Regions from separate parts of the Homo sapiens genome. Here all the other regions are linked to region 3. Evidence: promoter capture Hi-C in 16 types of primary human blood cells and fetal thymus (Javierre and others, 2016). All regions are on one chromosome and are shown on one strand. Each heading gives the region's core, a stretch centred on a gene start or on the middle of the fragment in contact. The rest is flanking DNA. Distances are from core to core; before and after follow the strand shown. Region 1 overlaps FECH (ferrochelatase). Region 2 has its middle 14 kb from the start of MRO. Region 3 holds the start of MBD2 (methyl-CpG binding domain protein 2). Region 4 overlaps ME2 (malic enzyme 2). Region 5 overlaps ATP8B1-AS1 (ATP8B1 antisense RNA 1). Region 6 has its middle 28 kb from the start of ME2. Region 7 has its middle 5.3 kb from the start of ME2.

What was found. The method cuts DNA at HindIII sites, captures the fragments that hold promoters and counts their contacts. A CHiCAGO score of 5 or more calls a contact.
Region 1: a fragment that was not itself captured here is called in contact with the fragment with the promoter of MBD2 in region 3 in 5 of 17 cell types (total CD4 T cells, M0 macrophages, total B cells and 2 more); the score reaches 8.0 in total CD4 T cells.
Region 2: a contact is called between a fragment that was not itself captured here and the fragment with the promoter of MBD2 in region 3, in 1 of 17 cell types (naive CD8 T cells). The highest score is 6.3, in naive CD8 T cells.
Region 4: a fragment that was not itself captured here is called in contact with the fragment with the promoter of MBD2 in region 3 in 2 of 17 cell types (total CD4 T cells and activated CD4 T cells); the score reaches 6.5 in total CD4 T cells.
Region 5: a contact is called between a fragment that was not itself captured here and the fragment with the promoter of MBD2 in region 3, in 2 of 17 cell types (neutrophils and activated CD4 T cells). The highest score is 9.5, in neutrophils.
Region 6: a fragment that was not itself captured here is called in contact with the fragment with the promoter of MBD2 in region 3 in 1 of 17 cell types (M0 macrophages); the score reaches 9.0 in M0 macrophages.
Region 7: a fragment that was not itself captured here is called in contact with the fragment with the promoter of MBD2 in region 3 in 7 of 17 cell types (total CD4 T cells, activated CD4 T cells, total B cells and 4 more); the score reaches 11.2 in total CD4 T cells.

What each region holds. Positions count from the first base shown.
Region 1 is chr18:57,575,576-57,579,431 of GRCh38, forward strand. The region is part of intron 2 of FECH (ferrochelatase); the gene reads right to left. Among named protein-coding and RNA genes, the nearest start is that of FECH, 9.2 kb to the right of the region's middle. The HindIII fragment of the contact is 226 bases long and covers 1,265-1,490 here.
Region 2 is chr18:50,831,932-50,835,627 of GRCh38, forward strand. No RefSeq gene overlaps it. Among named protein-coding and RNA genes, the nearest start is that of MRO, 14 kb to the left of the region's middle. RefSeq lists an enhancer at 663-772. The HindIII fragment of the contact is 1,345 bases long and covers 768-2,112 here.
Region 3 is chr18:54,222,569-54,226,405 of GRCh38, forward strand. It overlaps MBD2 (methyl-CpG binding domain protein 2), which reads right to left and starts at 2,101. Exons shown (of 7, transcript NM_003927.5): 1 at 1,450-2,101. The coding sequence starts at 1,991. RefSeq lists a silencer at 1,802-2,191 and enhancers at 2,942-3,484, 3,485-3,837. The HindIII fragment of the contact is 9,949 bases long and covers 1-2,467 here.
Region 4 is chr18:50,931,828-50,935,229 of GRCh38, forward strand. It overlaps ME2 (malic enzyme 2), which reads left to right. Exons shown (of 16, transcript NM_002396.5): 13 at 431-533. Among named protein-coding and RNA genes, the nearest start is that of ELAC1, 35 kb to the right of the region's middle. The HindIII fragment of the contact is 2,935 bases long and covers 139-3,073 here.
Region 5 is chr18:57,632,026-57,635,604 of GRCh38, forward strand. The region is part of intron 1 of ATP8B1-AS1 (ATP8B1 antisense RNA 1); the gene reads left to right. Among named protein-coding and RNA genes, the nearest start is that of ATP8B1-AS1, 3.5 kb to the left of the region's middle. RefSeq lists an enhancer at 845-1,693. The HindIII fragment of the contact is 5,144 bases long and covers 1-3,579 here.
Region 6 is chr18:50,849,579-50,853,426 of GRCh38, forward strand. No RefSeq gene overlaps it. Among named protein-coding and RNA genes, the nearest start is that of ME2, 28 kb to the right of the region's middle. The HindIII fragment of the contact is 304 bases long and covers 2,358-2,661 here.
Region 7 is chr18:50,871,941-50,875,623 of GRCh38, forward strand. No RefSeq gene overlaps it. Among named protein-coding and RNA genes, the nearest start is that of ME2, 5.3 kb to the right of the region's middle. The HindIII fragment of the contact is 2,517 bases long and covers 695-3,211 here.

The sequences.
Region 1 (3,856 bases), core at 128-2,627, 3.4 Mb after region 3:
GGGACCACAGGCACATGCCTCCATGCCTGGCTACTTTTAAAATTTTTTATATAGACAGAGTCTCGCCATGTGGCCCCGACTGGTCTCAAACTCCTGGCTCAGGCTCCCAAAGTGCTGAGATTACAGGTGTGAGCCATTGCCCCAGGCTTATGGTGACATCTTAATGGGCAATTTTTAAACAATTATTAACAACATTTGGCAATAACGTAAGGCAGCAGGGTATGTCAAATGTAAACAGGTAGAAACTGTTTTCTTGATCAAACCTGTTGTATAAGTGGATGAGGTAAAAATCTGAATTCTCAACCTACTTTTTCAGAATACGAATCAATTCCTGGGGAAGGAGAAATATGGCATTACAATGAGATCAGGGATTTTCTCATTTAGACCCCATTATAAAGATTAACTAAGGTCCCTTTTCACATCAATGCCTTCAACCGGGGTTTTTCAACCTCAGCACTACTGACGTTTGGGGCTGGAGAGTCCTTTGTTGTAGAGGACGGCCCTGTGCAATGCAGGAGCCTTGGCAGCATACCTGGCCTCTACCTGTACACAATAATAGCACACACCCCACCCCAGTGTGACAACCAAAAATGTCTCCAGCCATTGCCAAATTTGTCCCAGGAGGCAAAAATGCCCCCTTCCCCCTATTGAGAATCACTGTCTTAGAGAAAGAGGGCTTAATCCCCTTCTAAAACAACCAAGCAACTGCACTGAAGATGTGGTTGTTATATAACTCTTCCATGCTCGAGTCCTACAACTGCATTAACGGGTGTGTTGAGTTTTCTTTCCTTGATATTTGAAAATTCCAGATGCATTATTTTGTGAAACTAATATTCGTTTAATCTTTCTACTTAGACCACTAGTCTTCTCCTGGGATCCTGTCTTTCACCTTCAAAATCTGTGACTCACAATAAATTAAGTGCATTTTCCCATGGATTGCTGCCAGTTAACAGATTACTGGTTAAAAAAACCTCAGGCTAAAAGACTTACCTAAGCCACAGACGGTATCAGTGTGCAAACGGGATTTAGAGCTGTTTTTCATCTATAACACCTGAGCTCAGAACAAGAGTGGCTTTAAAGGGGATGCTACTCTGCCCTGCTCATGGTTTTGCAAACGCATGTTGATCTTACACATGAAAGAGATGCACACGACTTGAAAATACCTAAATACACATGCACTTAATTCAAAACTGTGTTGTGCATGATGAATAGCGCATTAGTAAGCCCCAGTCTGACACCCCTCTATTCCAGAATGTGAAGTGAAAGCTTTAGTCAAGGGTCTCCATCTCCTCTCCCTCCAGACAGAACACACCTGAGACCAAGGTCTGAACGTTCATGTTCCGTTTGTTTGAATATAAAAGTGTATACAGCAAAATATATTTAAAACTTCTCACTTGGAAAGGTTTCAACATTTTGCCATTTTTATATCCCAGGACTCTCAAAATACAAGGTTTTTCCGTGAAATATTAAATGTACGTAACAGAAACTTAAGCTTGTCAATTAATAAACAATAATTCTATTCTACTCTATATGGTCAGCCTCAAGAAAAAGTAATACGATCCCAGCTCTTCATTAAACCTCTAAGACATGATTGGCCTGTGGGTCTATGATGCCTCTAGAACAGAATTTGGTGAACTATAGCCCATGCACTAAATCTGTATACACACATACACCCCTACTGCCTGTTTTTGTAAATAAAGTTTTACTGGAACACAGCTCCCCTCATTGTTTATGTAATATCTATGGCTGCTCTCACACTACAACAGCGGAGTTGAATAGCAGCAAAAGACAGAGTTTGGCCTACAAAGCCTGAAAAATTTACTACCTAACCCTTTACAGAACTAATGTCAACCCCTGGCCTAGTGTAGTGTCTACTCTAGTATTGCAGTCTAGTCCAGCCCAAGCATTAAGCAGCACAATGCCTTCATAATGACTGCCATCAGAAGAATCCACAAAGACACTCACTGCTTCACCATTTCTAATATTAAAAAACTAGAAATCACCTACGTGTCCCAGAATGTTGGTCAAGGTAGTTTATGACTTAATAAAATACTCTTCAGTTACTAAAATAATATAGACAAGTATTTATGATGATAAAGTAAATAAAAAGAGGGCATTATAAATATATGATGTACAGTACGGTCACATCTTGCTAAATACATACAGAGTGAATATTTAATAGTCATACAGACAAAATTGGCCTGGCTGGTCGCTCACACCTGTAATCCCAGCACTCTGGGAGGTTGAGGCAGGAGGACTGCTTGACCCCAAGAGTTCAAGACAAGCCTGAGCAACACAGTAAGACCTCGTCTCTATTTTTTTTTTAAGAAGACAGAGAGAGACAAAATATTGGGTGGTAAGATTATTCATAATGTTTTAAGGTTTTTTTTGTTGCCTATCCGTATTCTCTAAAATGATCCCATTTATTTTATATAAATATGATCTAAAGTTACTTAGTAGAATTTAAAGACTTTCATTTAATTTTAATAATATTAAGCCTACTTATATTAATGAGTTGCTGCTAGAAAAACACACAAATGAAATAATTTTTCTTCTAGGATTCCAAACTGAATCAGTTCTTCAGTTTCTATCAAATCCCAACCCTCAGTGCATATGGCTGAGGTGGGGAGAGGGGCTGGGAGGGGCAAGGAGAAATGGAATGGGCCCTGCTTGGCAGGCTGCCAGATGAAGAAGGTATCTAATGCCCATCCCCAACTAACCTCAGGTTACACAGCACTCAGTCATCATACCCATGATCATATAGCAAAAAACAATAAACACACAATAAGAAAATTTTGGTTCTGGCCAGGCACGGTGGCTCGTGGCTCATGGCTCATGCCTGTAATACCAGCACTTTGGGAAGCCATGGCAGAACTGCTGGAAGCCAAGAGTTCAAAACCAGCCTCGGCAGCAAAATGAGACCCCCATCTTTACAAGAAAAAAAATTTGTTTTAATTAGCTGGGTGTGGTGGTGTGCACCTGTAGTCCTAGCTACTTGGGAGGCTGAGACAGGAGGATCACTTAAGCCCAGGAGTTCAAGGATGCAGTGAGCCATGATCACACCACCGCACTCCAGCCTGGGTGACAGAGCTACACTCCTCAAAATAAAAACGGTGGCTCACGCCTGTAATCTCAGCACTTTGGGAGGCCAAGGTGGGTGGATCACTTGAAGTCAGGAGTTCGAGACCAGCCTGGCCAACATGGTGAAACCCCATCTCTACTAAAAATGCAAAATCAGCTGGGTGTGGTGGCATGCACCTGTAATCCCAGTTACTTGGGAGGCTGAGGCAGGAGAATGGCTTGAACTTGGGAGGTGTAGGTTGCAGTGAGCCAAGATCAAGTCACTGCACTCCAGCCTGGGTGAAAGAGCAAGACTCCCTCTCAAAAAAAAAATAAAATTACAGGCTCATGCCTGTAATCCCAGCACTTTGGAAGGCCAAGGCGGGCGGATCACTTGAAGTCAGGAGTTTGAGACCAGCCTGGCTAACATAGTGAATTCCCGTCTCTACTAAAAATACAAAAATTAGCCAGGCGTGGTGGTATGTGCCTGTAATCCCAGCTACTCGGGAGGCTGAGACATGAGAATTGCTTGAACCCGGGAGGTGGAGGCTGCAGTGAGCTGAGATTGTGCCACCACACTCCAGCCTGAGAGACAGAGTGAGACTCTCTCAAAAAAAAAAAAAAGATATATATATATATGTGTGTGTGTATATATGTGTGTGTGTGTGTGTGTGTGTGTATATATTCATACCTGTATAATTTTCATCAAACAATGTGTGATCTAGCAGAAAGGTCATGGAGTTAAATAGGTCCCAGCTACTTTCTCTCACTCTGCCTGATGTTAAAGGGTGCTGTT
Region 2 (3,696 bases), core at 190-2,689, 3.4 Mb before region 3:
TGTGGCCTTACCCATCACTAAGGCACACCACATCATCAGTGTAGGAAATTATTTACAACTCCCCTCCCAAACATGTACCCCAAATGGTCATCTAAGAGTACAGTTAGGATACTTCTTGAGATGATGTGCTGAAAGAGTTAGTGGCCTGGGAGCCTTTGCAGAATTGCACTAATGGTCATGAAAGGGACTGATCTACCATAATTATTTTAGTGGCCCCCCTACCCTGGGCATTTGTGATGTTGATGGGCAATTAATTTAATAGCCAAAGCTTGGCTATGACCAGTCATTGGCAGTAGGGAGTAACCCTTCCCCCTTCCCTTTGCTGTTTCCTTGCAAGGACCTGCTACACGAGATGTTTGTCTTCATGGTGTGACTTGACAATGCAGCTTAGAGCTATAGCAATTTTGCTAAAATATTTTAGACAAGTAAACTCCAAATACTGAATGGAAAGCCGTTGTCTTTCTGGAAAGCTCTTAGCTAGAGTCCTTCATGATGTTTTTCCTCCCTCCTCTCCCCACATCCAGCCATCATTCCTCTTCCGCCTAAAATATCTAGCAATTACAAACAAAATGAGCTTCAGTTGCTAAAGTGGGAAGCAGGGGATTTCTAGTCCTTGGTGACTTTACTGCTGCAATCAAAATAGGCATTATCAACCAGAAAGCTTCCAACGCTGGAAGCTCCAGGGCACACCCAGGAGATGTGCTGTGGAGTGAGGCTAGGTTGTGGGCAGGGGGTAAATAAAGACAACACACACTGTTTAATCAATAAGCTTCTGGAAAGGTGACATAAAGACGGAAACTGTAAAATCAATGAGATTTTAAAGTTAGGTAATAAGAGTTGGTTGTTTTACAGGAAATACAAATGAAAAATCATTTTCTATTTTTTTCTGCTTTCAAGTTTTGAATTTAGGGCTTTCTAAAAGTAGCCAGCCAGTTCTTTGAGGCTGGGGTTCCACAACCTGCAGATCTGAACAAAAGAGAAAGTAATGAAGGGGAACCTATACCGATGTTACTCAGCATCATGTGCTTTGGGGCCACATTATTCATTTGAACTGGTAATGGCGGAAGGAAGAACCACCTGCCCTCTGTCTTCCAAGTTATCTTTAATATCAATTAGCAACAAGATTTGCAGGCCAGGTGCAGTGGTTCACACCTGTAATCCTAGTGCTTTGGGAGGCAAATGCAGGCAGATCACTTGAGTCCAGGAGTTCAAGACCAGTCTGGGCAACACGGCAAAACACCATCTCTATAAAACATTTTAAAATTAGCTGGGTGTAGCTATGCATGCCTACAGTCCCAACTACTAGGGAGGCTGAGGCAAGAGAATTGCTTGAGCCCAGGAGGTGGATGTTGCAGTGAGCTGAGATCGTGCCATTGCACTCCAGCCTGGGTGACAGAGAGAGACCCTAGAAGATTTGCAAAAATTCCAGAGTCTCATGGCTTCAACCTCGAGCATATGTTTCTTGGTAATCCTGTCACTTCATTGGTTTGGGTTCAATAAACAATTTTATATATAGATACACATACACATATATATATGTATAAATATATGTATATGTAAATATGTGTGTGTGTGTGTATATATATATATATATATATACACACACACTTTTTTTTTGAGGTGGAGTCTTGCTTTGTCACCCAGGCTGGAGTGCAGTGGTGAGATCTCGGCTCACCGCAAGCTCTGCCTTTTGGGTTCTAGCAGTTCTCCTGCCTCAGACTCCTGAGTAGCTGGGATTACAGGCATGTGCCAACGCACCTGGTCAGTTTTTGTATTTTTAGCAGAGACGGGGTTTTGCCATGTTGGCCAGGCTAGTCTCAAATTCCTGAGCTCAACTGATCCACCCGCCTCGGACCCACAAAGTGGCTGGGATTACAGGCATGAGCCACCACACCCGGCCTTTAGAATATTTTCTGAATGCACATCTTGGGCACAATATGGCCAAGGAGATCAAATAGATGAAAAATAAAAGAAGTTTATAAATTAATTAAGGAATCAAAACAAATTGCCCTGATTTTATTCTCTGTGCACTTCACATCATTTCACATCTTGCGGATCTTCCTAGAATCCTCAAGAACTTTTTAAGTTCAGGCTCCTCATACAGATCCTCAAAGCTTTCCAAGCTCTGCCCCACTTTATTTTTCTAGCCTTATTTCTCCTAGCCCTGTCATCTGCACACGTTCCACTCCCCAGCCCCCAAGGCAGGGTCTCCCTCTCTCTCCAATACCATCTGCTTAGCTCAACCTGCCTGTTATTGTTCATAAACCATCACCACAACGGTACAGGTCAGGACGGCTTTATGTAAGCAATGGTTTTGGAAAATGAAAGACAATTTCAAAGATCTCCTGTCGTGGTCTGAGCCAATTAGCTTCCATCTCTTCACTTTAGATATGCTCATCCTCATCCAAATAACAATCTTTTATATGTAGTAAAAGTTAATTGACTCTCATAATTTTGAATATATGGTAATTCAGACAAGGATTAATTTGAAGTTTGACTTTTGCAACTGACAAATGGCAGTAATTGGTATACAAACAAACTTGATGTGGGAAAGGTTTAAATATCTTAAAAGATCTAAATTTTTAGCACCTTCAAGTATTTGAGGAATATCCTTTCTGGTATACCAATAGAAACAAAGCTTTTCTATTTACCACAGTAAAATCCATGTAGATCATAGAAACAAAGCTTATCTGTTTATGAAAGTAAGATTCACATAAGTAATCTACAAAGATTTTATTAACTTAATTGAGATACTGTCAATACTTCAAAGTAATCAAAATGCTATTCCTTTACATATTAAATAATTTAACTTTTTCGTCAGGTTGCTCTCAATTTAGTGCAAGTGAAAAAGACATTGAGAAAGAAAAGAATATATATAAATACTTCTTATTTAAGTAATGTGACCCCTTTTAAATTATCAGGCCCAGAGAGGCATTAATATGAGACAGCAGTTATGTCCTACTTCTTCCCACCCCGACTTGAGCTATGTAATTGTCTCTTTTTTTTTTTTTTTTTTGAGACAGGGTCTCCCTCTGTCGCCCAGGTTGGAGTGCGGTGGTGCAATCTCGGCTCACTGCAACTTCTACCTCCCAGGTTCAAGGGATTCTTGTGCCTCAGCCTCCCAAGTAGCTGGGATTACAGGCGCACACCTCTGCGACCAGCTAATTTTTGTATTTTTAGTAGAGATGGGGTTTCGCCATATTGGCCAGGGAAAGGTCGAACTCCTGGCCTCAAGTGATCCGCCCGCTTCAGCCCCGCAAAGTGCTGGGATTACAGGTGTAAGCCACTGCACCTGGCCTGTAATCATTTCTTGAAACTGCTTGCTATTTTCACAAGTAGCTATAAATTAACCTAGCAATGCCACACACAGGACGCCATACCCATACCCTATAGTTCAACAATATGTAGCCAATCTAATCCATGTTATTTCTTTTAACCAGTGAAAATTCCTGACAAACAACTTTGTATCAGTCCACTCTTTGTCCCCCAACTCCCCTTTTTTTTGGCCTTTGAAAACCTGCTTGTGACAAAGGTTACTGGAGCACTCCCCAAGGCAAGTGTGTCCAGGGCAGTGGTCCTCAACCTTGGCCCAGATAAACTCTCTCTATTAATTTTGCCTCAGTTTTTTTTTTCCTTAGGCTCACATTATTCATTTGAAAGTCATTAAAATTCTCTAGACCCAATTTCTGGCTCTAA
Region 3 (3,837 bases), core at 851-3,350:
GAGATTCTCTCGCCCCAGCCCCGTAACTGGGACCACAGGTGATTACTACCTTCTTATGTTTAAAAGAAGTTCTCCATTTTATCATATGAGGTTTCAAGATGAGGGTCCAGATCAAGTGGAAGACTAAGTTCTATGAAACATCACTTTTATTTTTTAGTTGAGGTGAAGTGAACTTACTACAACTACTCATCCATATATAGCAACCATCAGGAATGTGTTCGTATTTACATGCTGCACCAGCAGTGATCACATTCTTGTGTGTGCATATGTATGTATATATGTGTATGTACATTTCTTTAACCTTTTCAATCTAGTTAAAAGTATTTTTAGTTCATAAGCATGGTATGTGTACAGACACATTTTCCCAGAGCTACTTGAAGAGGACAGGAAATCCTTTATAACATTATTACAATAGCTAAATGACAATTGTCTCCAATACCCATATACATTCCCTGAAAAATGCTTCAGTCAGTCCACAAACACGTACCTCCAAACTACTGAATACAAGTTTATATTATCTTCTATCAATAGCATGGCTTATTACAAAATTTAGTAAATGTGTATTAAGTCCACGGATGTCAATTGCCATAGGCACTTTCTTGAGCTTACTGGGTCACACAAACTGAAGACATCAGCAGCATGACCACGGGATTGCAAGATTACACTAAGGTGAAAAACCTTGAATCATTTAAAACAGGATGTCTCAACCTCAGCACAGGTGACAATTTGGGCCAGATCATTCTTTGTTGTGGCAGCTTTCCTTTGTATTATCGAATATGTAGCAGCATCTCTGGCCTCTACCCACTAGATGCCAGTATCACACCCTCCCCAGGTGTGAGAACCGAAAATGTCTCCAGACATTGACAAATGTTCCCTGGGGAGCAAATTTTGGTCTAGGAGTCTAAAAACTTAGTACAGTGTGTCAGTTTCAAAAGAGTATATTCTGCAATACCAAGAAGTTCCAAAAAAACTTCAGGCATTCCAAATAGCTGCTTTATACAAAACTTTCTTGGATGAAGTAAATGAAACCTTGTTACTGTAGATAGCTCATTCTTCCACATGTGCATGCTTAACACTTGTGATGATGAATCTGGGACAGGCTGGGACAGGAGCCAACAGTGACTGGGTTTTATAGTTTCGATGAATTACACCTCCTTTTAACCCTTCAGTGGACTAACCATCCCTGCCAGGCTAACCCTTTCTTCGCAAACCATCTTCCCCGACGCCTTCCACATAAGATGCCCTCCTGCGGGCCCTCACCTTTTGACACTGCCTCCCACCGCACTGGGGTCAACTCTCACCCAAGGGTTCCGCCACCTTCCACCACCAAACCAGCCTGTCCCTGCCACATGCCCCCCGGGCCCCAGCGCTCATCCTCTGCCCAGGCCCGCTCTTGACCCCTGACCCCGGCCTGACCCCGCCACCCCCTCCCCGCCCCCAGGGAGGTACCTGAAGTAGTAGACATCGCTCTTGCCAGCACTTAGCCCAGATTTTCGGATCACTTCCTCCTTCTTCCATCCGGGGGGGAGGGCCGGGCAATCCATCCTCTTCCCGCTCTCCGTGGCCCGGGGTCCCCTGGGCCCCGGCCCCGCGCTCCCCGACGGGAAAGGGACCGGCTCCCGCCGGGGGGCGCCGCCGCCACCGCTGCCGCCGCCGCCGCAGCCGCCGCCGTCGCCGCCAAGGCCGCTGCCGCCACTCGGGGGACGGCCGCGGCCCCGGCCCCGGCCCCGTCCCCGTCCCCGGCCACGGCCCCGGCCCCGGCCACGGCCACAGACGCCGCCGCCCCGGCCCGCCTGCTTCCACCGCCCCCGGCCACGGCCGCCGCCCCGAGCGCCTTCCCTGCGCACGCCGCTCACCGGGGACGGGGCGAGCGCGCTGCCCTGGCCCCCCTGCTCTATGGCGGAGTCGCCGCCAGCGCCGCTGCCGCCCGCCGCACTCTCCCCCTCCTCCTGCTCCGGGCAGCAGCGGCCTCCCCCCGGGTGCGCGCGCATCCAGCCCCCTCCCCAGCCGGCGCTGCGCTTCTTCCGTAACCGAGCCCTTGGAATCCCGGAGACCCGCCCCGCCCGCAGCGCGGCGCGCGGGGGACGCGCGCAAGCATCATAGAGCGGGCGCGCACAGAGCGGCCCTCCTGCCCGGGGCGTGGCCCCGGCCACCGCCTCTTAGGTCCTCCAAGCGCTATGGGCGGCCATCTTGTCTCCGCCTTCTCGGGGCCACGCCCCCTCCCGCGCTTTTCCGGCCCCCACTGGGCGCGCGGAGCTGGGAAGGTTGGTCGGGCTAGCCACCAGCTGGGGGTGTCATAGTGACTGTGGTTAGTTTGTTTCAAACGGGGTAACCTCCACCATTATGTGATTTTACCTATGTTTGCTTCCCAATTAATGAATAACAAGCAAAATAGATCTTATATTACATACCAACTCGGCTATTCATTTAAGGGGGTGATAGCCCCTTTTCCCGCCCCTCTGCACAAAGCTTGCAGGGGAGCTTATAATGAAGGAATGAAGCAAAGTGTCCCATTCGCTGAATACCAGTTCCCTCCTGAGCCTGGCTTCAGAGCCATTGACAGATTCTCCTGGAACCTTGTAAGGATGTAGGAAAGGAAATGATAACTTGGAATATGCCCATGAGTCAGATGGGGCTTACCTCTAGATTCTCCTTAGAATGACCAGAATCCCTAAATCCATCTAGAAATTTCCAGATGTCTTTGTCTAATACAAAAATCAGTGGCCTTTTATTTGGTAAATATTCCATTATGTTGAAAGTCCAGCCTAACTTACTGTCACAAGCCTTTAGGAAACTGTGTGGTATTCTTTTCGGTCTGCCAACTTGAATTTTAGAAATGCATATTTTCTATAAGTTGTCGAACACTTATAGAAGTGTGCTATTGATATTCAAGATAATATATTATGAAATATTTGGAAGATTGAAAAATGTAAAGCACATGTTATCAGCCTGATGATAAGCTATCTTGGGTTTCTATACTCATATGCCCTAAAAACTGAGGACCAAGTTTAACGTATAGAAAAAGTTGATTAATATAAAGCAACAAAAATCTAAAATTAATTTGGTTTATCTTTGCAGTATATGCAAACATTAACTCATACACACAAACTTGTCTGTCTCTAAACCTGACCTTAGTCTTCTTTTAATGTCCTTTAGTTGAAAGACACTAATTTGTGGTTTCCTACAAGAAATTTAGAAATGTGAATGTAAAAAATCATCAAGAAATGAGTTCTGAGGAGATCAGTACTGGAGACATTCATTTAGAAGTCATCTGTGGGCCGGGCGCGGTGGCTCACGCCTGTAATCCCAACACTTTGGGAGGCAGAGGCGGGCAGATCACCTGAGGTCAGGAGTTCAAGACCAGCCTGGCTAACACGATGAAACTCCGTCTCTACTAAAAATGCAGAAAATTGGCTGGGCGTGGTGGCGGGCGCCCGTAGTCCCAGCTGCTCCGGAGGCTGAGGCAGGAGAATGGCGTGAACCCGGGAGGCGGAGCTTGCAGTGAACTGGATCACGCCACTGCACTCCAGCCTGGCAGACAGAGCGAGACTCTGTCTCAAAAAAAAAAAAAGAAGTCATTTGTGGCCGGGCGCGGTGGCTTACTTCTGTAATCCCAGCACTTTGGGAGGCCGAGGCCGGCGGATCACGAGGTCTAGAGATAGAGACCATTCTGGCCAACATGGTCAAACCCCATCTCTATTAAAATACAAAAATTAGCTGGGCGTGCTGGCGTGCGCCTGTAATCCCAGCTACTCGGGAGGCTGAGGCAAGAGAATCGCTTGAACACGGGAGGCGGAGATTGCAGTGAGTCGAGATCCCGCTACTGCACTCCAGCCT
Region 4 (3,402 bases), core at 356-2,855, 3.3 Mb before region 3:
ACACACCCAGCTAATTTTTTGTATTTTTTGTATTTTTTGTAGAGATAGGGGTTTCACTCTGTTCCAGGCCATCTCAAACTCCTGGCCTCCAGTGATCTGCCCACCTTGGCCTCCCAAAGTGCTGGGACTGCAGGTGTAAGCTTCTGTGCCTGGCCTTAAATTTCTTAAAAATAAGTGTCTGGTTTTTAAATTTTTAGTAATAAATGATTTTTAACTTTATTATTTATTTATTGAATGTATACTACACATGAAACAAACCTCATTCTAACAAAAGGATTGTAACGAAAAGATTGTTATATAGTATATTATGCCTTGCTTCCAAGTAATATATTGGTCTATTTTACTTCAGGACTTGATTTTGTATGAATTCACCTCAATTTTCTCATCCACAGAAAATAACAAAATTGAAGTTATTTCATTTTATTAACAGGGCAGGTGTTTGTTTGCCAGTGGCAGTCCATTTGGGCCAGTGAAACTTACAGATGGGCGAGTCTTTACACCAGGTCAAGGAAACAATGTTTATATTTTTCCAGGTAAATGCCACCATTATTTATGTTATAGAGCAATAGTTAATTATGTAAAAATACTTAATGGAATTCTTTGGAATGGGAGACTGAACTGAGCAACAGTATTACAGAATTTTGGTATAAATGTACAAGGAAACTCAAGGAATTCATCAAATTCAGCATGCTCCACTTTCTCTGAAAATTTATTCATATTGTTAATTAAATTTGTTTTTATTATAGAAATAATATATTGCATGATTTGTAAAAATGCAGAGGAACAGAATGGCACAAAATTATGTAACCCTTTCTATCTCCCCTTGGTGTACCTCCTTAATCATACTTCTCAGAACCATTGTCAATAATTTGCTGGGAGTTCTTCTGATGGTTACCATCGTGACTGATAGATTTATTTCCCAGGTTCAAGCAGTTCCCCTGCCTCAGCCTCCCGAGTATCTGGGACTACAGGCATGCACCACCACACTCAGCTAATTTTTGTATTTTTAGTAGAGATGGGGTTTCACCATGTTGACCAGGCTGGTCTCGAACTCCTGACCTCAGGTGTTCTGCCCATCCCAAAGTGCTGGGATTACAGGTGTGAGCCACCACGCCCAGCCAGGTGTTCTTATTTTGTAAGATACACCCAGTATACTGGTATCACACCAAAGGAAATTAATAATAATTGCTTAATATCGTTTATCATTACCTCAGTTCAACAACTTATTTTTATTCCCAATACCTTTTTTATTCTAGAATTGCTCTTTCTAAATAGCTACTTTTAAAGCAAAAATGGTTACAGTACTCATTGAGCTTTTTCTGGAGAATTATTAGGATTCCTTTCAATGTTTCTGCCTTTGTGCTGTATTTTCCATAAATTTCTAGTGATCCTCAGTTGTCTCTTTCTTTTAAGCAAGACTGTGTTGAGTAAAACAGGAATTTTGTATGATTTTCTTTTGCACTTGTGTCTTTTTTCTTCTGGTAGGTCTTTCCCTGACTAGCTGACAGCAGGCTCTAATTAAGATATGACAAGTTTATATAGGCTGGCATCAGGCAAGCATGTATAACTGTTGTCAAAGTAAAGAGGGTATTTAGTCTGTGAATATCCTGGTACTTTTCTATATTTTTCTCCTTTTTTTTGCCCCTCATGTTTTCCTATATGTCTCTTGAGACCTAACTTCTATAATAGAAACTGTCCTGTCATCCATAATCTCTTTCTAGAACTTGATAATGTTCAAAATTAATGTGTTCTATTCAGTAACATTTCTATGGCCTAAAAGACATGAGGGCAGGAAAGGAAATACTTTTCTGCTGATTTTAACAAAGCTATTTTTTTAAACTTTTTTTTTTTAGTTCCAGGGGTACATATGAAGGTTTGTTATATAGGTAAATTGTGTGTTGCAGGGGGTTTCATGTATAGATTATTTCATCACCCGGCTAATAAGCATGCTACCCGATAGGTAGTTGTTTGATCCTTACCCTCTTCCCGCCCTCTACCCTTAAGTAGGCCCCAGTGTCTGTTGTTCCCTTCTTTGTGTCCATGAGTTCTTATCACTTAGCTCCACTTGCAAGTGAGAACATACGGCATTTGGTTTTCTGTTCCTGTGTTAGTTCACTTAGGATAATAGCCTCCAGCTCCATGCATGTTACTGCAAAGGACGTGATCTCATTCATTTTTTTGGCTGCATAGTATTTTTTTTTATTTATACACATGGTGTATATGTGCCACATTTACTTTATCCAGTTTACCATTGATGGGCATTTAGATTAATTCTATGTCTTTACTATTGTGAATAGTGCTGCAGTGAACATACACATGCATGTGTCTTTATGGTAGAATGATTTATATTCCTTTGAGTATATACCCAATAATAGGATTGCTGGGTCGAATGGTTGTTCTAAATTCAGCAAAACCATATTTTATATCATATCTGAGTATTAAGGAATTTAGCAGTTGATTATTTTTATATAACACTTTAAAATCCTAACTTAAATAACAGCTATGGATACCATAAATATAGACATTAAAAATGACCTGGTCAGGCATGGTGGCTCTCGCCTGTAATCCCAACATTTTGGGAGGCCGAGGCAGGAGGATTGCTTGAGGCCAGAAGTTTGACACCAGCCTGGGCAACATAGTGAGACCTTGTTTCTTCCAAAAATTAAAAAAATTAACCAGGTGTAGTGGTGCACACCCCTATTCCCAGCTAGTCAGGAGGCTGAGATGGAAGGATCGCATGAGCCTGGGAGGTCCAGGCTGCAGTGAGCCATCATCATGCCAGTGCACTCCAGCCTGGGCAACAAAGTGAGACTGTCTCAAAAAAATAAAATAAAATGACCTGGCATTTGAGGCAGAAATGAGCCTAAAAGCAGGAGGATTGGCTGAAAGTCTGTTTATAAAGCAACTTAAAAAAAAAACTGTTAATATTTGAATGACCTAGTTGAGCAACTATAACAACCGGATGAAAATTTTTTTTAAGACTTTAAAAGGGTCAAAGGGATAAGATATTGACTCTAATGGAATATTGGAGAATTCTGGACCAAGGTTAGGGAGGGAACAAATGCACAGAACAAGCTTTTGAAGCCAGTTTTACAGTGGAAATATAGACCAGGAAGAAAGTGGCTAAGAGGTACAGCTGTGCTTTTCATGGAAAGTGGACAAGATCGGCACCATGTCCGAGTCTGGCACTACCTCCCACTCTGGACTGAAACCCTAAAGTGCTGTACCTTGGATTGGGGGTATAGTTTGCAGCAGCAATGGGTGATTTAGAAAACCTCAAGCCTCTGTTCGGGACTGCCAGTGCCCACAAGTGCCCAGCGGAAGCAAACAAAAATTTCTCTGAAATAAGATAATGGCATCCTAGTCCTCAAATTATTTTTATAAATTTTCAAGTACAACCTA
Region 5 (3,579 bases), core at 781-3,280, 3.4 Mb after region 3:
GCTGTGTATGCTCTGGCTTACCACTGCTTCTTATTTTTTTTTTTATTATTTATTTATTTATTTATTTATTGATTGATCATTCTTGGGTGTTTCTCGCAGAGGGGGATTTGGCAGGGTCACAGGACAATAGTGGAGGGAAGGTCAGCAGATAAACAAGTGAACAAAGGTCTCTGGTTTTCCTAGGCAGAGGACCCTGCGGCCTTCCGCAGTGTTTGTGTCCCTGGGTACTTGAGATTAGGGAGTGGTGATGACTCTTAACGAGCATGCTGCCTTCAAGCGTCTGTTTAACAAAGCACATCTTGCACCGCCCTTAATCCATTTAACCCTGAGTGGACACAGCACATGTTTCAGGAGAGCACAGGGTTGGGGGTAAGGTCACAGATCAACAGGATCCCAAGGCAGAAGAATTTTTCTTAGTACAGAACAAAATGAAAAGTCTCCCATGTCTACCTCTTTCTACACAGACACGGCAACCATCCGATTTCTCAATCTTTTCCCCACCTTTCCCCCCTTTCTATTCCACAAAACCGCCATTGTCATCATGGCCCGTTCTCAATGAGCTGTTGGGTACACCTCCCAGACGGGGTGGTGGCCGGGCAGAGGGGCTCCTCACTTCCCATAGGGGCGGCCGGGCAGAGGCGCCCCTCACCTCCCAGACAGGGCGGCTGGCCGGGCGGAGGGCTGACCCCCCCACCTCCCTCCCGGACGGGGCGGCTGGCCGGGCAGAGGGGCTCCTCACTTCCCAGTAGGGGCGGCTGGGCAGAGGCGCCCCTCACCTCCCGGACGGGGTGGCTGGCCGGGCAGGGGGCTGACCCCCCCACCTCTCTCCCGGACGGGGCGGCTGGCCGGGCGGGGGGCTGACCCCCCCACCTCCCTCCCGGACGGGGCGGCTGGCCGGGCAGAGGAGCTCCTCACTTTCCAGTAGGGGCGGCCGGGCAGAGGCGCCCCTCACCTCCCGGATGGGGTGGCTGGCCGGGCAGGGGGCTGACCCCCCCACCTCCCTCCTGGACGGGGTGGCTGCCGGGCGGAGACGCTCCTCACTTCCCAGACGGGGTGGCTGCCGGGCGGAGGGGCTCCTCACTTCCCAGACGGGGTGGCTGCCCGGCGGAGGGGCTCCTCACTTCTCAGACGGGGCAGCTGCTGGGCAGAGGGGCTCCTCACTTCTCAGACAGGGCGGTTGCCAGGCAGAGGGTCTCCTCACTTCTCAGACGGGGCGGCCGGGCAGAGATGCTCCTCACATCCCGGACGGGGCGACAGGGCAGAGGCGCTCCCCACATCTCAGACGATGGGCGGCCGGGCAGAGACGCTCCTCACTTCCTAGATGGGATGGCAGCCGGGCAGAGACGCTCCTCACTTTCCAGACTGGGCAGCCAGGCAGAGGGGCTCCTCACATCCCAGACGATGGGCGGCCAGGCAGAGACGCTCCTCGCTTCCCAGACGGGGTGGCGGCCGGGCAGAGGCTGCAATCTCGGCACTTTGGGAGGCCAAGGCAGGCTGCTGGGAGGTGGAGGTTGTAGCGAGCCGAGATCACGCCACTGCACTCCAGCCTGGGCACCATTGAGCACTGAGTGAAGGAGACTCCGTCTGCAATCCCGGCACCTCGGGAGGCCGAGGCTGGCGGATCACTCGCGGTCAGGAGCTGGAGACCAGCCCGGCCAACACAGCGAAACCCCGTCTCCACCCAAAAAATACGAAAACCAGTCAGGCGTGGCGGCGCGCGCCTGCAATTGCAGGCACTCGGCAGGCTGAGGCAGGAGAATCAGGCAGGGAGGTTGCAGTGAGCCGAGATAGCAGCAGTACAGTCCAGCTTCGGCTCGGCATCAGAGGGAGACCGTGGAAAGAGGGGAGAGGGAGAGAGAGGGAGAGGGAGAGGGAGAGCTGCTTCTTATTTTTATTTATTTTATTTATTTATTATTATTATTTTTTTGAGACGGAGTTTTGCTCTTGTTGCCCAGGCTGGAGTGCAATGGAGCGATCTCAGCTCACCGCAACCTCCGCCTCCTAGCTTCAAGTGATTCTCCTGCCTCAGTCTCCCAAGTAGCTGGGACTACAGGCATGCGCCACCGTGCCCAGCTTATTTTGTATTTTTAGTAGAGACGGGGCTTCTCCATGTTGGTCAGGCTGGTCTTGAACTCTCGACCTCAGGTGATCTGCCTGCCTCGGCTTCCCAAAGTGCTGGGATTACAGGCGTGAACCACCACGCCCGACTATTTTTTATTTGTTCTTTTGAGACAGGGGTGATCCTCCCACCTCAGCCTCAAAAGTAGCTGGGACTTCAGGCACACACCATCACACCTGGCTAATTTTTTTTTTTTTTTTTTTTTGTAGAGACGGGGTTTGGGGGTTTTGCCTTGTTGCCCAGGTTGGTCTCGAACTCCTGGGCTCAAGGGATATGCCCACCTTAACCTCTCAAAGTGTTAGGATTACAGGTGTGAGCCACTGCGCCCAGCCCTATTGCTTTTTAAAGGTACAATTAACTTTAGCCCAGGCTAGCTTTTTCACTGAATTGATCTGGGTACGATGTGGGGTTTGGGATAGCTGTTCAGAAAGGTGAAGACAGAGTCAAAGAGAGAAAAACATTTTCTCTATAGAGGTGGGGAAACTTTCAGAGAGAATTAATTGTGTCCTCTAAAAGCAATGAAGTCCGCTTGGTTAGTTTGAAGAACGATCATGTATCAGTTTATAGGAATTGAGACTTTTTTTTTTTTTTTTGAGATGAAGTCTTTCTCTGTCCCCCAGGCTGGGGTGCAATGGCATGATCTCAGCTCACTGCACCCTCCACCTCCCAGGTTCAAGCAATTCTCCTGTCTCAGCCTCCCAAGTACCTGGGATTACAGGCGCCTGCCACCACGTCTGGCTAATTTTTGTATTTTTAGTAGAGATGGGGTTTCACCATGTTGGACAGGCTGGTCTTGAACTCCTGACCTCAAGTGATCCGCCTGCATTGGTCCCACAAAGTGCTGGGGTTACAGGCGTGAGCCACCATGCCCGGCCGGAGTTGAGGCTCCAAGGGGTCTCGGGGGGTCTCAGAAGCTCAGCTGATGATATCTTAATCAGGTTTGGGTTTTTTTTTTTTTCTGTTAGAACAGGTCATAAAAATACTTTCACCCCAAGCCACAAAATCCTATAAAATAGCTCAGTCTTTGACAAATACAGTGAATATAAAAGAGCTCTTTTGAGTTTCTATTTACTCAAGATGTTTGCAGTGATAAAATCTTGATATAAGTTTTCTAGAATCTTGAACTTTCAAAGCTCCTTTAGAAACAGTCCTTTGTGTTGTTTTTATTAAACTCTTCAATGAACACAAAGTTTTTATGTTGTTCACACAAAATTTAAATAAGGAAGCTGAAGGTAGGTGGGAACCCCCAAATGGATGGTAATAGAAAACCTCCTATAGCATTTCCATAGACTGGTTTATTCATTATGCAGCTTGGCTCAGCAGAACCATTTTATAATGAAACTGCAAGATGACTCCCAGTGGGCAAATCAACCTCTATTCTAAAGGTTGATTCTTGTCAACTGGGAGAATTGATTCCTGATGAGAAATGCTAGACTAAAAAACCCTCCCACATTCACTTC
Region 6 (3,848 bases), core at 1,260-3,759, 3.4 Mb before region 3:
TTGAAATGTTCTGTCTCTGAAATGTCTAGATTGTCTCCATTTTTCAATGTTCAGTGTAAGTGTCTCCTCCTCCAGGAAGCCTTCCCCACCTCTCCAGCCAAAAGGAATCTGCCCTCTTTTGAACTTCCAGAGTATTATTTCACCCTATCATATGACACTTTCCAATTTCCTCCACTTTCGTGTTATGGTGAAATATGTGGAAATCTTATTTCCTCTACTAGATTGTAAAGTCCTTGGTGACAGGAATTACATCTTTGGACATCATGTCTAGCCAGACACAGTTAGCCATGTATCCTCTAGGAAATGGGTTCTCAGTAAATCAAGGAAGAGATGAAGCAAGTGAAGAAGAAAAACTCTGTTGCATAAAGGAGAGGCCCCCCTGCTTGGAAAAATCTCTTTAAAGGGAATATTCAAGAGAAAGTGAGGGAGAAGGCCAGGCACAGTGGCTCACGCCTGTAATCCCAGCACTTTGGGAGGCTGAGGCGGGCGGATCACCTGAGGTCAGGAGTTCGAGACCAGCTTTGCCAACATGGCGAAACCCCGTCTACTAAATATACAAAAATTAGCCGAACGTGGTGGCAGTAATCCCAGCTGAGGGAGGCTGAGGCAGGAGAATCGCTTGAACCCAGGAGGCAGAGGTTGCAGTGAGCTGAAATCATGCCATTGCACTCCAACCTGGGTGACAAGAGCAAGACTCTGTCTTAAAAAAAGAAAGAAAGTGAGGAAGCAGAAGGCAAAAGTGAGTTGGGTTAAAAGCCAACTGATTAAGGAAAGAGATTGTGTCAAACCTAACAAGGAGCAGAGAGGAGTGAGAGGATGGCCAAGAGCCTATTATCTAGGTGGGTGATACTTGGCCCCATAGCCTGTGCTTCCACTTCTTCTCTCACCTGTTGCTTTTCAAGTCCTCTTACTGAATGGGTTCACTTGATACCCTTAAAGAAGCCAGAGCTTGGTCAGGCACGGCGGCTCATGCCTGTAATCCCAGCAATCCCAGCACTTTGGGAGGCCGGGGAGGGCAGATGGCTTGAGCTCAGGAGTTAGAGGCCAGCCTGGGCATTTGAAAAAAAATTAGTCAAGTGTGGTGGTACACACCTGTTGCCCCAGTTACTCTGGAGGCTGAGGTGGGAGGATCATTTGAGCCTGGGAGGTCAAGGCTGCAGTGAGCTGAGATCGGCCACAGCACTCCAGGCTGGGACAACAGAGCAAGACCCGGTCTCAAAAAAAAAAAAAAAAAAAAAAAAAAAGAAGAAGAAGAGGAAGAAGTCTGAGCTAGGCATGTGCAACTACCACAGGCAGACTTAAGCTCCAAGAAGCCATGTTAACTCCTTCCCTAGAAAATCAGTATGGTCTGTATGAGAGCAGGAGAGCAATCAGCTGGCTCAGTAGAAACCTCTCCCTACTGCACATGAGCAGAATCCTTCCTGCAACAGAAATCTGGAACATCTTGTTCAGTGAAATCATTTCTCCTTCAAGAAAACCTATGCCAGTGCTTACGATGACAGACTATCCATCCCTGACATAGGACTCTGCGTTGACACGGAAATGTGATCTGAGTCTGCAAGGGCCTTGGGGCAGGACCCTCTGTCTCTGATAGGACTAGAGGTCACTGCACTCATATATTGCCTATCAAGACCACCCTTCCTAATTTAGATTTTTTTTTTTTTGAGATGGGGTCTTGCTCTGTTGCCAGGCTGGTCTCAAACTCGTGGGCTCAAGCGATCCCTCCACCTTCCCGAGTAGCTGGGATTACAGGCTCAAACCACAATGCCCAACCCAATTTAGATCTTATTTTCTTTTTCTTTCTTTCTTGTTTTTTTGTTTGTTTGTTTGTTTGTTGTTGTTGTTGTTTTGTGACAGAGTCTCACTCTGTCCCCAGGCTGGAGTGCAGTGGCACGATCTCGGCTCACTGCAAGCTCCACCTCCCAGGTTCACGCCATTCTCCTGCCTCAACCTCCTGAGTAGCTGGGACTACAGGCGCCCGCCACAACGCCTGGCTAATTTTTTGTATTTTTATTAGAGACGGGGTTTCACCATGTTGGCCAGGATGGTCTTCATCTCTTGACCTCGTGATCCGCCCGCCTCGGCCTCCCAAAATGCTGGGATTACAGGCATGAGCCACCGCGACCAGCCTAGATCTTATTTTCATTTGATGCAAACGGGGCTTCAAACCAATGAGCCGCATCAGTCCAGGCTTGGCTACCCACGACTAGTCTGTCTTCGTACAGCCAGCACCTCCAATTCAATTTGTCCAAAATAGAACCCTTCACCTTTCCACACGCTGGTTTTTCAATCCTTAACAAGTGTATCTATTTCCCAGGTTGGGAGGCCTTACAGACCTTTCCACTACTCAACCCCAAAGCTTGTTTCCTACCTGGGCCTACTCAGCTGCTGGAGTCTCCTCCCATCTTTGCTGCAACCTCCTGGGGTGAAGCCAGGGTTCCGCTCCTCATCCAAGGATTATCGCCAAAGTCAAAGTTAAGTCAAAGGAAAGAATGTCCAATCCCTTTTCCTAGGGAGATTTTTTTATCACCTCTCCCATGGCACAGAAACCAGTGGTAAACTATAGATAAACTCATAGTTTGCTTCTGTTTCCAAAGGGAAGCTCACCAATGCCTCATCACCTGCTTCCTTCTGACCTGACTTTCAACCCAGGACAATGCAAGCTTGCAGAACACGCGGGCTGCTCTTTATCAAGCAGTCTGTTTGTGTTTCTAAGACTCTCCCTGATTCTATTTTTTGGGTTTTTTTTTTTTGTTGTTGTTGTTGTTGTTGTTGTTTTTGTTTTTTCAGACGGAATCTCACTCCGTCACCAGGCTGGAGTGCAGTGGCACAATCTCAGCTCACTGAAACCTCTGCCTCCCAGGTTCAGGTGATTCTCCTGCCTCAGCCTCCCAAGTAGCTGGGACTACAGGTGTGCGCCACCGCGGCTGGCTAATTTTTGCATTTTTAGTAGAGACAGGGTCTCACCATGTTGACCAAGCTGGTCTCGAACTCCAGGCCTCAGGTGATCTGCCTGCCTTAGCCTCTCAAAGTGCTGGGCCTCCCTGATTCTGTTACTCTGCCTGACCAAAGAATGATCACTTCCCATTTTCTCACATCTCTTTGAAAAACCAATTACTCTTAAAACTTTAGAAAAATGCCTCCCTCTCTCTGTCAAACTTGCAGAGCTCTGTGTTCCATCTCTTCCTTTCCATTCCCATTCCCCTGGTCTAGTCTAGGGTATTGTTCTACCCTCCTACATGGTCACCTGGTTCCTGATATCACTCCAGAATGATACTTCTAAACCACATTTTGATCATGTCACTACTGTCACCCCATTCCCCTGCAACCTCCAAAAACTCTTACTAACTCTCCATTGCTTGCAGAACAAAGACCAAATTATTTTGCATGGTATTGAAGGCTTCCACATTTGAGCCCCAACCTGCCAATCTAGTCTTGCTTACATTCTTCTGTTCCAAATTCCTGCTAACAGAACAAGCTCTAAGATTTCACATCTACTTCTCTGTCTGGAATTCATTTTGACCTATCAGAACTATGGCTATCCTTCAAGACTCAGATAAAATGACAAATGACATCTACTACACAAGCCTTCCTTGATATTCCCTACCTGAAATGTTTTCCCCCTATTCCTGGCACTTCCACGAAACTCCCCCTTATAAGCATTTGTTACCTTTTACTTTGTATTACAGTAACTTGTGCACACAGCCCAGTTCTTATCCCAAATTGCAAACTCCACAAGGCCAAGGACAGTGTTATTGAATTTTATATTCTTTTCAATCCCTAGTACACTCCCTTTCATAAAGTTACTTAATGAAGTATTTATTAAATCCATTAATCCAGCTGGGTGC
Region 7 (3,683 bases), core at 703-3,202, 3.4 Mb before region 3:
TCTATTTCCCAATTACCTTTTCTCAGCAGGAAATTTAATACAGGAAAATGAATTATGCCCTGAGGAATGCTTGATGAATGTACAACATCAAACAGTGGTTCTTAAGCTTGAGTGTGTGTCCAGATCACTTGGAGAGCTTGTTATAACGAAGACACTTGGGCCCCAACTCTGGAGTTTCTGATTCAGTGGCTGTGGGGTGGGGCCTGAGAATTTGCATTTCTAACAAGTTCAATGATGATGATGATGATGGCCTGGGACCACACTGTGAGAACTCCCGCGTTAGATGTCAACACTGAGTGATTTGCACAATAAAACAGTTTTATCCTTTAATCAAGTATCAATCATATGTGAGGACTTAGGAATACAGGAAGAAATACTTTTTATAAATCTCTACTCTCATGGAGTTTCTAATATGTTGTATAAAAGTATACAAAACAGAAATACATGAGAACTATTAAGAAACATGGGTGTTGGAGACCCATATCGGAACATTCTTGTTTTATTGGTATAAGGTAGGCATCAATTTGTTTAAAGCTCCCTGGTGATTCCAGTGTGCGTTTACATACTATTACACCAGTGTTCACTGAAGAGCTGAGATTAGAATTTGTCCTTGAATTACGAAGCAGTTTTTAATTGACAGCTTACAGCGGGGAAGTCTTTCCCAGGTTGGGGAGTGGGGTGACATAATGCTCCAAGCTTACTTTCAAATCTTTCCAAGACACTGAACTGTACATAAACATATTTTAAAATATTCAGTCTGTACAGTGTAGTTTGTATCCTCTTTCCACTTATTAGTGGTACCCTTGGATGAATCAACCTCTAAGTCCTCAGTTTTCCCATATGTAAAATGGGGATAATAATTATACCTACCAGCTGGGCACAGTGGCTCATGCCTGTAATCTCAGCACTCTGGGAGGTCAAGGTGGGAGAATAGCTTGAGATCAAGAGTTCAGGAGCAGCCTGAACAACATAGCAAGACCTTGTCTCTACTAAAAATAAAAAACATTAGCTGGTTGTGGTGGTACATGCCAGTAGTCCCAGCTACTTGGGAGGCTGAGGCAGGAGGATTGCTTGACCCTGGGAGATCAAGGCTGCAATGAGCTACAATTGGCACTGCACTCCAGCGTGGGTGACAGAGCAATACCCTATCTTGAACAACAACAACGACAAAAACAGGAGTGGCACGGTGGCTCATGCCAGTAATCCCAATACGTTGGGAGGCCAAGATGGGAGGATTCGTTGAGTTCAGGAGTTCAAGACCAGCCTGGGCAACATGGCAAGACCCCAACCCCATCTCTAAAATAAAATAAAGAAAGAAACAGAAATAATTATACCTACTTGATAGCGTTGTTAGGATAATTAAATAATTTTAATATATACATGAGGTGGGCGGGGTACAGTGGCTCATGCCTGCAATCCTAGCACTTTGGGAGGCCAAGGGTGGATCACCTGAGGTCAGGAGTTCAAGACCAGCCTGGCCAACATGGCAAAACCCTGTCTCTACTAAAATTACAATAATTAGCTAGGTGTGGTGTCACACACCTGTAATCCCAGCTACTCAGGAGGATGAGGCAGAAGAATTGCTTGAACCTGGGAGGCAGAGGTTGCAGTGAGCCAAGATCATACCACTGCACTCCAGCCTGGGCAATAGAGCAAGACCCTGTCTCAGAAAAAAAAAAGTAAAAATAAATAAAATACACTAGGTGCCTTAGAGCAACGCTTAGCAAATAGTAAGTACTCAATGAATGGTAATTATTATTTATCAAACATCATCTATATGCCAGGCAGACAGCCTGCATGAGAATACTTTGCATCTGTATCCTTTTAATATTCACAAAACTCTTGCATATTTTGTGTCTCATTCCTCTTTTCAATGCCCTTTGAGATACATAGGGAAAGTTTAATTGTGTCCACCTAACCGGAGAAAAAGACATCCAGCCTCTTATTAAGACAGTGTGAGAGCTAGCCCTAGAATTCAAGTATTCCACACTCCCAAAGTGTGCTTTTTCCTTCGATGTAAATAAGTAAATGAACAAAATAAAACAAAAGCAAAAAGAAAAAATTTGAAGAACTGAGGCATTTGTCCAGATAATTTTCAAACATCCCCTCCATGCCTTCCACTCCCACCCCATAGGAATCCAAACAACCTTCCTTCTATCATTCCCTGATTATCTATAATTGGGGTGTCTAATTTATGGATAACTTATACTCTGCTTGGAGTTATATTTCTTGCTCAGCCATAGTTCTAGTCAAAAATTGTCAGGTTTTATCTTCATTTACTGGAGAGACCCTGCATTTAGAAGAGATTCTTTCCTTCTCTCAAGGATTATCCAGAAAGTGATTGAGCCATGTTTAGCCTTAAATCCTACCCTCACATTTTTGTGAAAAAGCCCATATTTGTATAAATCAACTCTAATTGGGTTTTCTGTTGTTGGGAGCTAAAAATCATTTCTAACAGTTACTGTTAAAATGCACAAAAATCTTGTTCCTGTCGTAATATCTTCATTTATATTTCCTCCTTTAGAATAGCTCATTAACTCTTATTAGGTCAAATTGAGGATGTCAAGTATAAACTACTAGTAGTAGATTAGTAATAATAGTAGTAAGGATAATCATAGTACTGTTTTGATTCTGTGTGCCCTGACCTACTATATATTAGACCTTAACATTCATTTTTAAAAACTCTATACTTGAAAAATAACTACACACTTACATTATTTCTGGAGACCTATGGATGTATATAATTCCCCTTGGTCTTTTAACTGATGAGACATCTTAGTGTCTCACTATAACTATTACTGGATCAAAGTAGCTTTTTTTTTTTGGAGACAGGGTCTCACTCTGTCACCTAGGCTGGAGTGCAGGGATGCGACCTCAGCTCAGTGCAACCTCCGCCTCCTGGGCTCAAGTGATCCTCCCACCTCAGCCTCCCAAGTAGCTAAGACTACAGGCATGCCCCATCAGGCCTGGCTAATTTTTTTTTTTTTTTTTTGTAAAGATGAGGTTTCACCATATTGCCCAGGCTGGTCTCAAACTCCTGTGCTCAAGCAATCCACCCACCTTGGCCTCCTAGAGTGCTGGGATTACAGGAGTGAGCCACCTCACTCAGCCCAAAATAGTATCATTTAAAGATGAAATAGCTCAATTCAAGCAAGAATGCTGGACAGATAGGGGATAAAAGGTAAATGCAAGAAAGCACAGTATTTTTCAAAGCTTAAGATGATCATGCAGAAAATTCACAACCAGTTGCAGAGTAATGACTACTTTATTTAACCCAGGAGTTATATCCGCCAGTGTAATTCTTGCCTGTAGAAACCAGCAGAGGGAAATTTCAGAAGGTTTAGACACTATGTTTCTACTAATGATTACTCATGTTTTCCAATTACATGTGTCTTTTTCCTGCCTTTTCACTGCTCAGATCCCAATATATGTAATATGTCACTCAGCAGCTGTTACATGAAAGGAACATGTTAGGTTGCTGTATTAACTTTTCCAGCATGCATGTGTGTGCACTGGAGAAGAACCCAGGCTCTTCTACTCCTCTGACATCCTTAGAGTGCAGGCCTTCATTCTCTTGTTTGTCATCTTATGGCCCAATGATGGGTGCCATGCCACTACACATCTGTGGCAAAAAGTGAGATGAAGCAAAACAGCCAAAGACACATGCCAGTTGAATCTGTTCT